2 separate regions of the Homo sapiens genome follow, and region 2 is linked to region 1. The links are contacts of gene promoters, found by promoter capture Hi-C in blood cells and fetal thymus (Javierre and others, 2016). All regions are on one chromosome and are shown on one strand. Each heading gives the region's core, a stretch centred on a gene start or on the middle of the fragment in contact. The rest is flanking DNA. Distances are from core to core; before and after follow the strand shown. Region 1 holds the start of KRTAP4-5 (keratin associated protein 4-5). Region 2 has its middle 11 kb from the start of KRTAP9-7.

Evidence for each region. The method cuts DNA at HindIII sites, captures the fragments that hold promoters and counts their contacts. A CHiCAGO score of 5 or more calls a contact.
Region 2: a fragment that was not itself captured here is called in contact with the fragment with the promoter of KRTAP4-5 in region 1 in 4 of 17 cell types (total CD4 T cells, naive CD8 T cells, non-activated CD4 T cells and 1 more); the score reaches 5.8 in total CD4 T cells.

The regions. Positions count from the first base shown.
Region 1 is chr17:41,148,361-41,154,016 of GRCh38, forward strand. KRTAP4-5 (keratin associated protein 4-5) reads right to left here and starts at 1,465. Exons shown (of 1, transcript NM_033188.4): 1 at 564-1,465. The coding sequence starts at 1,407. The coding sequence ends at 862. The HindIII fragment of the contact is 5,677 bases long and covers 1-3,543 here.
Region 2 is chr17:41,284,279-41,289,664 of GRCh38, forward strand. No RefSeq gene overlaps it. Among named protein-coding and RNA genes, the nearest start is that of KRTAP9-7, 11 kb to the left of the region's middle. The HindIII fragment of the contact is 390 bases long and covers 3,703-4,092 here.

The sequences.
Region 1 (5,656 bases), core at 215-2,714:
CTCCTGGGTTCAAGTGATTCACCTGCTTCAGCCTCCCAAGTAGCTGGGACTACAGGTGTGCACCAACACGCCCAACTAATTTTTGTACTTTCAGTAGAGAAGGGATTTCACTATGTTGCCCACACTGGTCTCGAATTCCTGGCCTCAAGTGTTCCACCCACTCAGCCTCCCAAAGTGCTGGGATTGCAAATGTGAGCCACCACGCTCGGCCAGAAACTGTATCCATTAAGAGCCTATACTGCATTATGTACCAGGCCCTGTGGTGAGTATATTACATGGGTTATGTCTCTTAACATTTAAAGAATGTAATGCATTATCTCTATTCACAGAGAAAGAAAACTGAGGCCTGAGGAGGTTAAAAAACTTGCCCCATGCCACGCAACAAATACCTAGGGGAGTCGTGATTCCAATGCAGGGAACATGAATCAAGAGCCCAGGCTCTTAAACATGCTCTCCTGCATTTGAAGAGAGATGGCCCTTGATGTGAACTGACAGGTAAAGACACACACACACACACACACACACGCACAATGAGATCACTAACAAATCAGAAGATTTCAATATTAGGGAAGTGGCTGTTTATTAATACATGAAAACAATATTATATGAGATCATCACAGTTAGTGTCCCCTTCGAATGAAGACACTGCTCATCTAAAAATAACTGCATTGGGGCCTGGCATAACATATTTTAATGAATGTGATTGTCTGTCATTTCCTAGAAGAGCTGAATGTCCACTCTGAATGCCACATGAGACAAACTGGCAGGGAAGTGTTCATTTTTCCAGTGACTGGCTGGCTACAGTGCATTTTAAATGACTAATGAAGACATTCATAGTATGACAAATATCACAAGGAGACATTAGCAGCAAGAGGAGGCACAGCACAAGGGGCGGGGGCAGGTGGAGATGACACAGGTTGGGCGATAGCAAGTGGTGTGGCAGGAGACTCGGCCACAGACTGGACGCACGCAGCAGCAGGGGCGGCAGCAGCTGGATTCACAGCAAGAGGGGTGGCAGCAGCTGGAGATGCAGCAGCTGGGACGGCAGCAAGTGGGCTGGCAGCACACAGACTGGCAGCACTGGGGTCTGCAGCAGCTGGACACACAGCAGCTGGGGCAGCAGCAGGTGGTCCTGCAGCAGGTGGTCCTGCAGCAGGTGGTCTGGCAGCAGCAGGGGCGGCAGCAGCTGGATTCACAGCAATAGGGGCGGCAGCAGCTGGAGATGCAGCAGCTAGGGTGGCAGCAGGTGGGCTGGTAGCACACAGACTGGCAGCACTGGGGCTTGCAGCAGCTGGGGCGGCAGCAGGTGGTCCTGCAGCAGGTGGTCTGGCAGCAGCTGGGGCGGCAGCAGTTCTCCAGGCCACAGCTCTGCTCAGAGCTGACAGAGCCACAACAGGAGCTGACCATGGTGTCAGAGGGTGGAGGTTCTGGGTGGATTTCTAGAAGAATGAGGTTCTCAAGTTTGGAAGTGTCCTTGGGCCACAGCCTCTTATATACTGCCCAGCTGTCTTGTTGGTACTACATTTTCCTTGTTTTTGTTTACTTAATAACTAAGTGATTATCAGATTACACAATAATGTTTGCCCATTTAATGGTTTAAACTTGTTGAAAACAAAATTTTCTTGTCCGGATGTAATAAGATCTATCATGTCTGCCTTCTCTCATGATTCACACCTCGGTAGCATCTTCTAGACCACGTTCTCTTCCTCTTCCTCCACAGAGGGCTGTTCATGTGATTCCCTGCATTTGGAATTGCATTTCTTACTCTCGCTTCAGGTACCCTCTACCAAAATGGGATTTGGTCAGTCACACTTCCAGTTATGCATTCCCTCTAGTGACCAATAGCGAGGAAAACCCATCTGCTCAGTGTGGCATTCCTAGTCTGTGGGTCATTATTAAGCAATAAGCAAAGGGATAGCAATACCTGCATGTGGCCTTGGTGACCTCTACACTATTGAAATGGGTTTCCCTGAATGTTTCAAATTTTGGGTCATATTCCATATCCTTAAATTTTTATACTTGGTGTTACTAATGGGTCAGTTTCTTAAATTGATACTTTGCTCTCCTATATTTTGTGTCATGTCTCTCCAGTTAATCTATTAGATTCCGGAAGACATAGTCCCATTTTTATTCCATAACTCATTGTTTTTTTTAAATGCCTCTAACTGTCTGTTAACATAATGCAGGTGTGTGTTTTCACTTTTTAAAAAAGAAATTTGAGATAATTGTAGATTTACATACAGCTGTAACAAACAGTCCCAGGAGAGGCTGTCTGTACTTCACCCAGGCTCCCTAACACTGTGTAACACCTGTATAATACTTTTAAGAATCTATCTACCCCCACTACTGTGTCTTGCATGATGTGCTTAATATAGAAAGAACTCAAGCTCAGTGAAATTAAAAACAATTAGTTATTTTTCAGATTGACGTATAATATTGTATTTACCACATACAACATAATATTTTGAAGTATATATACATTGTGGAAGGATTAAATCTAGCTAATAAATGCATTACCTCTCATACCTATCATTTTTTTGTGGTGAGAACGCTTAATATCCATTCTTAGAATTTTTCAAGAATACAGTATGTACAATATATCATCATTAACTATAGTCACTATGCTATACAGTAGACCTCTTGAACTGATTCTTCCTGTCTAGCTACAATTATATGTCTTTTGACCAGTATCTCCTCAAGCCCCTGACTCCCTAGCCACCCCTAGCCTCTGATTATCTTCATTCTCTGCTCTACTTCTATGATATCAACTTTTTTGAGTGCGATCATGTGAGTGAGATCATGTGCTATCTGTCTTTCTATGACTGATTTACTTCACTTAGCATAATTTCCTTGAGATGTATCCATGTTGTCACAAATGACAGAACTTCCGTCTTTTTACGGCCAAATAGTATTGCACTGAGTATATACTGCATTTTCTTTATCCCCTTACTCATTGGTGGACACTTGCACTGTGTGCATATCTTGGCAATTGTGAATAGTGCTGCAATAAATCTGGACATGCAGTTATTTCTTCAACATACTAAGTTCATTTCCTGTAGATATATAAGGTACCCAGAAGTGGATTGCTGGATAATACGGTAATTCCAGTTTTAATTTTTTGAGGAACCCTTATATTGTTTTCCATAATGGCTGAACTAATTTATATTCCCACCAACAGTGTACGAGGGAGTTTTTTTCACATCCTTGCCAATACTTGTCATCTTTTGTCTTTTTGATGATAACCATTCTAACAGGAATAAGGTGATATCTCAATGTGGTTTCGATTTGTATTTCCCTAATGATTAGTAATGTTGAGTACTTTTTCACAAACCTGTTAGCCATTTGTATGTCTTCTTTTGAGAAATGTCTAGTCAGGTCTTTTGCCCATTTTTAATCAGGTTTTTGTTTTCTTGCTTGTGAGCTGTTTGAGCTCCTTTTGTATTTTGGATGTTAACCCCTTATGAGATATATACTTTATAAATATTTTCTCCCATTCTGTAGGTTATCTCTTGACTCTTTTTGTGGTTTCCTTTGCTGTGTGGAAGCTTTTTAGTTTGATGTAATCTCAGTCATCCAATTTTTCTTTCGTCGCCTGTGCTTTTGAGGTCATATTCAAAAAGTCATTGCCGAGACCAATGTCATGAATCTTTCCCCCATGCTTTCTTCCAAAAATTTCATAGCCTCTGATCTTACATTCAAGCCATTAACCCATTTGAACTGATTTTTGCATACTGTAAGAAATAAGGGACTAATTTCATTCTTCTGCATGTGGATACCCAGTTTTCCTAACATAATTTATTGAAGAAACTGTCCTTCCCCCATTCTTGGCATCTTTGTTGAAAATCAATTGGTTATAAATGAGTGACTTTATTTCTGGTCTCTCTATTCCATTCCATTGGTCTGTGTGTCTGTTTTTATGTCAGAATGATGGTATTTTGGTTACTGCAGTGTTGTGGTTTATTTTGAAGTCAGGGAGTGTGGTGCTTCTAGCTATATTCTTAGTGTCCAAGATCACTTTGGTTTTTTGTGGTTCTATACAAATTTTAGAACTTTTTAAAAATATTTCTGTGAAGAATGTCATTGGTATATTTATAGGGATTGTGTGAGATCTGTAGATTGCTTTAATAATATTTGGACAATATTGGAATAAACACAGGATATCATTCCATTTATTTGTGTTTTCATCAATTTCTTTCATCTGTGTTTTACAGTTTTCAGTGTAGATATCCTCACTTCCTTGGTTAAACTTGTTCCTAAGTATTTTATTTTATTGTAACTATTGTAAATGAAATAGTTTTCTTGATTTCTTTTTCAGATGGTTTGCTATTAGTGTATAGAAAACCTACTGGGTTTTGCATGTTGATTTTATACTCTGCAACCTTACTGAATTTGTTTATTAGTTCTCACAGTTTCTCAGTGAAGTCTTTAGGGTTTTCTACATATAAGATCATGTCATCTGCAAATAGAAACAATGTAACTTCTTCCTTTCCAATTCAGATATTTTTAAAATATTTTATTCGTGTAAATGTATAATTTTGTTACATGGATATATTGCATAATGGTCGAGTCAGGACATTTAGAGTATCCATCACTGAAATAACGTGCATTCTACCCATCAAGTAATTTCTCATCATCCTTCCCCCTCCTACACCCCTGCCCTTCAGACTCTCCATTGTCTGTCATTCCACACTCTACCTCCATGTGTACGCATCATTTGGCCCCACTGTAACTGAGAACATGCAGTATTTGTCTTTCTATGTCTGAGTTGTTTCACTTAAGATAATGGCCTCCGGTTCCATCCATGTTTCTGCAAAAGACATGGTTTCATTATGTTTTATGGCTGAAGAGTATTCCATTGTTTATATATAGCACATTTTCTTTATCCAGTCATCCACTGATGGACATTTAGGTTGATTCCATATGTTTGCTACTATAAATAGTGGTGCAATAAACATATGTGTGCAGGTATATTTTTGGTATAATGATTTCTTTTCCTTCAGGTAGACACTCAGTCATGGGATTGCTGGATCAAATGGTAGTTCTAGTTTTAGTTCTTTGAGAAATCTCCATACTGTTTTCCATAGCGGTTGTACTAATTTACATTCTCAACAACTGTTTATGTGTTCCCTTTCAGCTCCATCTTCATCAACATTTGTTATTTCTGTCTTTTTGATAGCAGCCATTCTTACTGGTATAAGATGATCTCTCATGGTGGTTTTAATTTGCATTTGTTTAATGATTAGTGATGATAAGCATTATTTCAAATGCTTATTGGCCATTTGTATGTCATCTTTTGAAAAATGTCTGTTCATGTCCTTTTCCCCTTTTTAATGGAATTATTTGCAATGTTTTTGTTGGTAGAGTTCCTCTTAAATTCTGGATATTAATCCCCTGTTGGATGGATAGTTTGCAGATATTTTCTCCCATTCTGCAGGTTGCCTGTTCACTCCATTGATTATGTCTTTTGCTGTGCATGACAGACCAGGAGCACCATCATCTTGGACAAACACTGCCACTTGAAGTTGCAGCTCCCTTTCTAGCCTCATGCATTTCAAGGAAATCACTTCTCTTCTAACTACAAGCAGCCAGAAACAGCAGACAGTAAAACACAGATAAGATAGCTCTGGCACAGAGGGAAGCAGGGGGAAAGTCTCTT
Region 2 (5,386 bases), core at 2,648-5,147, 140 kb after region 1:
CAGGAAGTTTATTAGGATTCCTTCCATGCCTGAGATTCTTTGAGATCCTTAAACACTCTGTCTTGCCCCATCATTATTTGATTAATTAATTGCTAACAGGTTGTTATTCTCTGAACTCCGTAAGCATTCACATACATAATGCTTTAAAGAAAGCATACACACTGTCATGATAATTGGCATTCCCTTGGAGATAAAAAAAAAAAAAAAATAAGGACTATCTCCCCAATGGCATGCAAGGTAGAATTCACAACCCTTGATAAATGTACCTGGTTCTGGCCTTTAGCCTTGCAGACTCAGAGACCTGATTTTGCTTACATTCTAAGGGTTAAGCCACGTCTTAGAGCAGACACCTGTTAGCCAAGCCCAAAAAGCAAGGATGCCTATTTATTAAATTACAGGAGAATTAAGTAACAGGAACTTCTAAAACACCACATGAGTAAGGAATCAGACAGGAAGTTATATAAACTAAATGTTGAATGGCATTTGACATGTTCGTTTCACAATAGTTCTCACCAATGGAAATTGAAAATTCATAGTCCCTCTCCTGTGGGCAGTTGCCTGGAGGCACACTGCCAACATTCACCCCAGCACTTGTCTTAACCCTGATTTTCCATGGTTCAACAATACTCTAATTTAACTTTCACATTTTTACATCTTCAATTAGACTTGAATCAATTCCTCAGACTTTGAATGCATACATCTTTTTAAGGTGACGCTACATAATTTGGTTTTGATCGTTTTGAACATAGGTTCCAAGTCTTGGATGATATCTGACTGTACCAATGCATTCTCATTCACACCATTGCATGGTGAGCATCCATGATGAAATTTATATTTGGTTTAGTTCATGTCTACCATCATATCTGTTGACTATTTGTAATATTTCTATTGCATGTCAGGATAACTTGGGCTTTGTTTATCTTTCTTATCTCACTAAGTCTTTAAAAAAAGATTACTGTGTGATACAGAGTTGTCATCATAGTGATAATGTAGAATTATCATCAGAGTGTTGGGTTGACTCTTATGATTTTGTGTGTGTCTTTGTTCATCTAATTATAATCTAACATCACCAACCTGTTATGAGTGACACACCACATACTTCTTCCTTCCTCCCTGCTGTGAGTTATAGTGGTGATTGGACTATAATTAATTTATTCTTCTTAGAATTTGAATTACACATAAAAGACAATCCCTAGGTTAGGCCCTCTAGTGCAATGTAATATTGTTATGGAAAGAACAGGGATTAATTTCAGAAAAACCAGCCTGTGTTTCCTACATTCAAAATAGGGAAAACTCGGCTCTTTCATCACTGGACACCTTCTCCTTGGAACCTCTTCTGACAGATGGTTCAGATAACACAGCTTGGGATTTTTCTTGTGAATATGCAGGAAACAAGAATGAATGTTATATTCTAAGATCAAACGCTGGGATAAATTTAATTAAATTGTAGGTTTGGAGATAACTAATGCAGAAAATATAGGATTAAAAATCAGAAATAAAATTAAAATGATTCCCACTTAAATAAACAAATATAGACATTATTCTAGAATATAAATCAAGAAAGCCTAAATTGGATAGATTGTATAAACTCGCTAAGGAAAGCATGCAAGCCTTATCCATCCTTTATTATCACTGCGTTCCACAGTGGCTGTGGCCTGTCCCAGACCAGAAAACCTTCAGATCCTCTTTCTAAACAAAAGCATTCCTTATGCAAGATAAGGACAAGGTAAAAACCAAGCTCTTCAGCCCCAGTCAGATTCCTGCTTGGAACAAAGATTAAGATGGAAAGGGTCAAATTTCAATAATCTTCTGCCCTTTAAGGTTGATTCCTAGCAAAATCAACCCAGTTTTTTCCAAGCATTCCCCTTTAAGTGCCCAATAGTAATAAATATAGCAAAGCATAAGTATACTTAATATATAAAACAAACCACTCACTAAGACCAACATTAAGTCCACTATGAAAGAACTGTACCTACACAAATAGGTGATGATAAGAATATAAGGGATTTCATTTAAGATCTACTGGTAAAATTATGATTAAGACATAAGAAAGGAGGACTTCTTAATATTACTTATATATTCAAAGAATAATATTTGAACAGAATTGTGTAGAAGGACAGCTGGAAAGGGGAATAGTGGCCCCAAATGGATGTAAACAGCATAGGAGAGAATTTAGTTTCTTTAAATGAGTTCTAGTTTCCTGACCGTGGACAAACTACTTCTCAGATACTGAGACATCTTCCAAGTGAGAACATTGAACACTGAGCTCTTTTTTTTTTTTTTTTTTTTTTTTTTTTTTGAGATAAGTCTCGCTCTGTCACCAGGCTGGAGTGCAGTGGTGCGATCTCGGCTCACTGCAACCTCCACCTCCAAGGTTCAAGCAATTCTCCTGCTTCAGCCTCCTGAGTAGCTGGGATTACAGGTGCCCGCCACCATGCCCATGTTTCACCATGTTGGCCAGGATGGTCTCGATCTCTTGACCTCATGATCTTTGGGAGGCCCACACTGGCCTCCCAAAGTGCTGGGATTACAGGTGTGAGCCACCACACCCAGCCAAGAACATTGAACTCTTATTGGTGATGTTTGAAGAATCGTGGGGAACCTAAAATTTGGGAGACTGGATCTATATTAGCATCAGAGAAAATTTTCATTCAATCTGAACTGATCAAAATAAGGATAGCTCCCTCTCCTTCAGGAAGCATTGAGCATGCCAGCATTTGCAAAATATATACCCGAACTTGAATTGCAAGAGCAGTTTTTTCCTTTTTGGCCCTGAAAATAACTTACAACATCCAAGAAGACTTTAAACAATCTATCTTTTACCTATTGCACAATTTGTTATTATACAATAGGGGGCTTATTGTTATTATTGTTGTTTGTAATGGTATTTCTAGGGCTTTCTATATTTCAAATGACTGACTCTTAATTCTGTTTAGTGCTGAATCACTGTTTTCCTCTTTCGTTTTTCTTTTAACTGGTAAATATTAACTTCCTTCATACAGCTCTGTCCTAAGACAGGTACAGCTAGCTTATTGGTGACAGCCGGACATGCTTGCACTGAATGACCGATGGTTTCCACTCTTCTTCTTTCCTCCTCTTTCCTAGTAGCTCAGTTCAATAAGGTTAAGCCCTTTTCTGATGGTTTGAGATACATTTAAAATGAATTTCTTATATTTATTTTTCTGGTGAAATAATATGTTATCAGGGAAACAATAGGGATTTGGCTTTTAAAAATTCATCATAGTCTTGTTAAAAAAAAAATTATTCAATGGCACTTGTGAAAGCCTGGTAAGGGAGACTTTATTCAGGAACACTGCAGTAAACAAAGGAACCACCATAACAGGGTCTTGCATTGGGAGACAGAGATTGGACTCATCTCCTAACATAGCATGGGCAAGTGAGAATTTACAGCCAAGGAGCAGGGTGGCGGTCAGTGGATGGAAAATTACTAAGAGGAAGCATCACCAGTAGGGAAATTTTGGCTAAACTGACCTAAAAGTGCTCTTGCTGAAGACAGGCGAGGGTGATCAAACATCACTTGGAGAATGGTGGCAGATAAGAGATCTGATCCGCTATTAAGGGTGATCAGATATCGAGGATGGGGAGTTCTTGCTAAACCTATTTAGCAGGGCTCTTTGCTAAAATTTTACAAAACTGGATTTTACAAGGAAGTGCACCCATGGGCCTATGAGAAGGTTCAGAAGCTTGACTAAACTATGGACAAGGAAAAAAATCTTCATTGGTCCTTACTGCCTTTTTAAAGAAACATTGGACTTCATGGCCACTAGTGAGGGTTTGGATTTAACTAATGAGTATCACTAGAAATTGGACATGCATGAGATTCACCATCCCTGTCCACCACCTCTGCTGATTGTCTTAATAACTGGTTAATTTTGCCACCTCTAAAATATCTTTCCTGCACATTTCTTCATTGTATTTATAATTTGAATTATCTTCTTTGCAACTAAGGCATTTCCCAATTTATCACCTAGTAATCTATACTCATCTTGCATATCCTTTCGTGACCTAGATTATGTGTGCAGTATATCCTTCATAAGCTCTTAAATTTAAAGGATATTTTATATTTTACAAAGCTTTTTCCCATTTTGGCCTGGCACAGTGGCTCACACCTGTAATCCCAGCACTTTGAAAGGCCAAGGCAGGAGGATCATTTGAGGTCAGGAGTTCGAGACCAGCCTGGCCAACATGGCAAAACCCGTCTCTACTAAAAATACAAAATTAACCAGGCTTGGCAGTGTGCACCTGTATTCCCAGCTACTCGGGAGGCTTAGGCACGAAAATCACTTGAACCTGGGAGGCAGAGTTTGCAGTGAGCTGAGATCGCGCCACTGCACTCCAGCCTGGGTGAAAGAGCAAGACTTTGTCTCAAAAATTAATTAATTAATTAATATTTTTAAAAAAACAAAGTTCTTTCACATCTATTCCCATGCCACTAAGTCAAGAGACTAATTTTTAAGACTTCGGGAAAGATCTATGGATCCCATCCATGCTGACTTAGAGCATAAGCAAATAGTTCATTTAAACAGCAACCCTTTAACCAGGCACAGTGGCTCACACCTGTAATCCTAGCACTTTGGGAGGCCAAGGTGGGTGGATCACTTGAGGTCAGGAGTTCAAAACCAGCCTGACAAATGTGGTGAAACCCCGTCTCTATTAAAAATGCAAAAAATTAGTGGGGTGTGGTGACACGCACCTGCAATCTCAGCTACTCGGCAGGCTGAGGCAGGAGAATCGCTTGAACCCAGGAGGCGGAGGTTGCAGTGAGCCAACATCAAGCCACTGCACTCTAGACTGTGCGACAGAGCAAGACTGTGTCTAAAAAGAGCAATCCTTGGATTTTGTTTGCAACAGCTCTAGACTATTTATCAGGAAATCACTACCATCAAATATTTTTCCAGTTCCAGCTAGGTTCAGGTGTTGCCAAGAAGTTTCTGATGAAGTGGGCTACAGGAGGGAACTTACTTCTAGATGTTATAGAACTATTGTTGTAAGATGAATTTATTTAGGTGGGCAAACTGATGAGACCAACATGAGTAACACCAAATGCCGTACACCACGCAGATGGGCAAGTTTCATGTTATACTGGGGACTCATGGGCTCATTACACCCATCTTTTGGGCCATTTTTATGTCTCAAATATCAGTTTTTATTCTGTTGTCTTAACTTATAGCCACTGAGATAACTCCCTACTGATATTTAGTTTCCAAGTTGACCTTTACAAGGCTGCCTTAACTTTGCCCCTTAACATCCTTTATCAAAGCCCATTACACGAATCCCACATTTGAGATTTCCAAAATAAGACAATCATGCATAGCTTTTCCTCAGGAATGGAACTTCTCAGGACAAGTCTGACGTGTACCCTAGT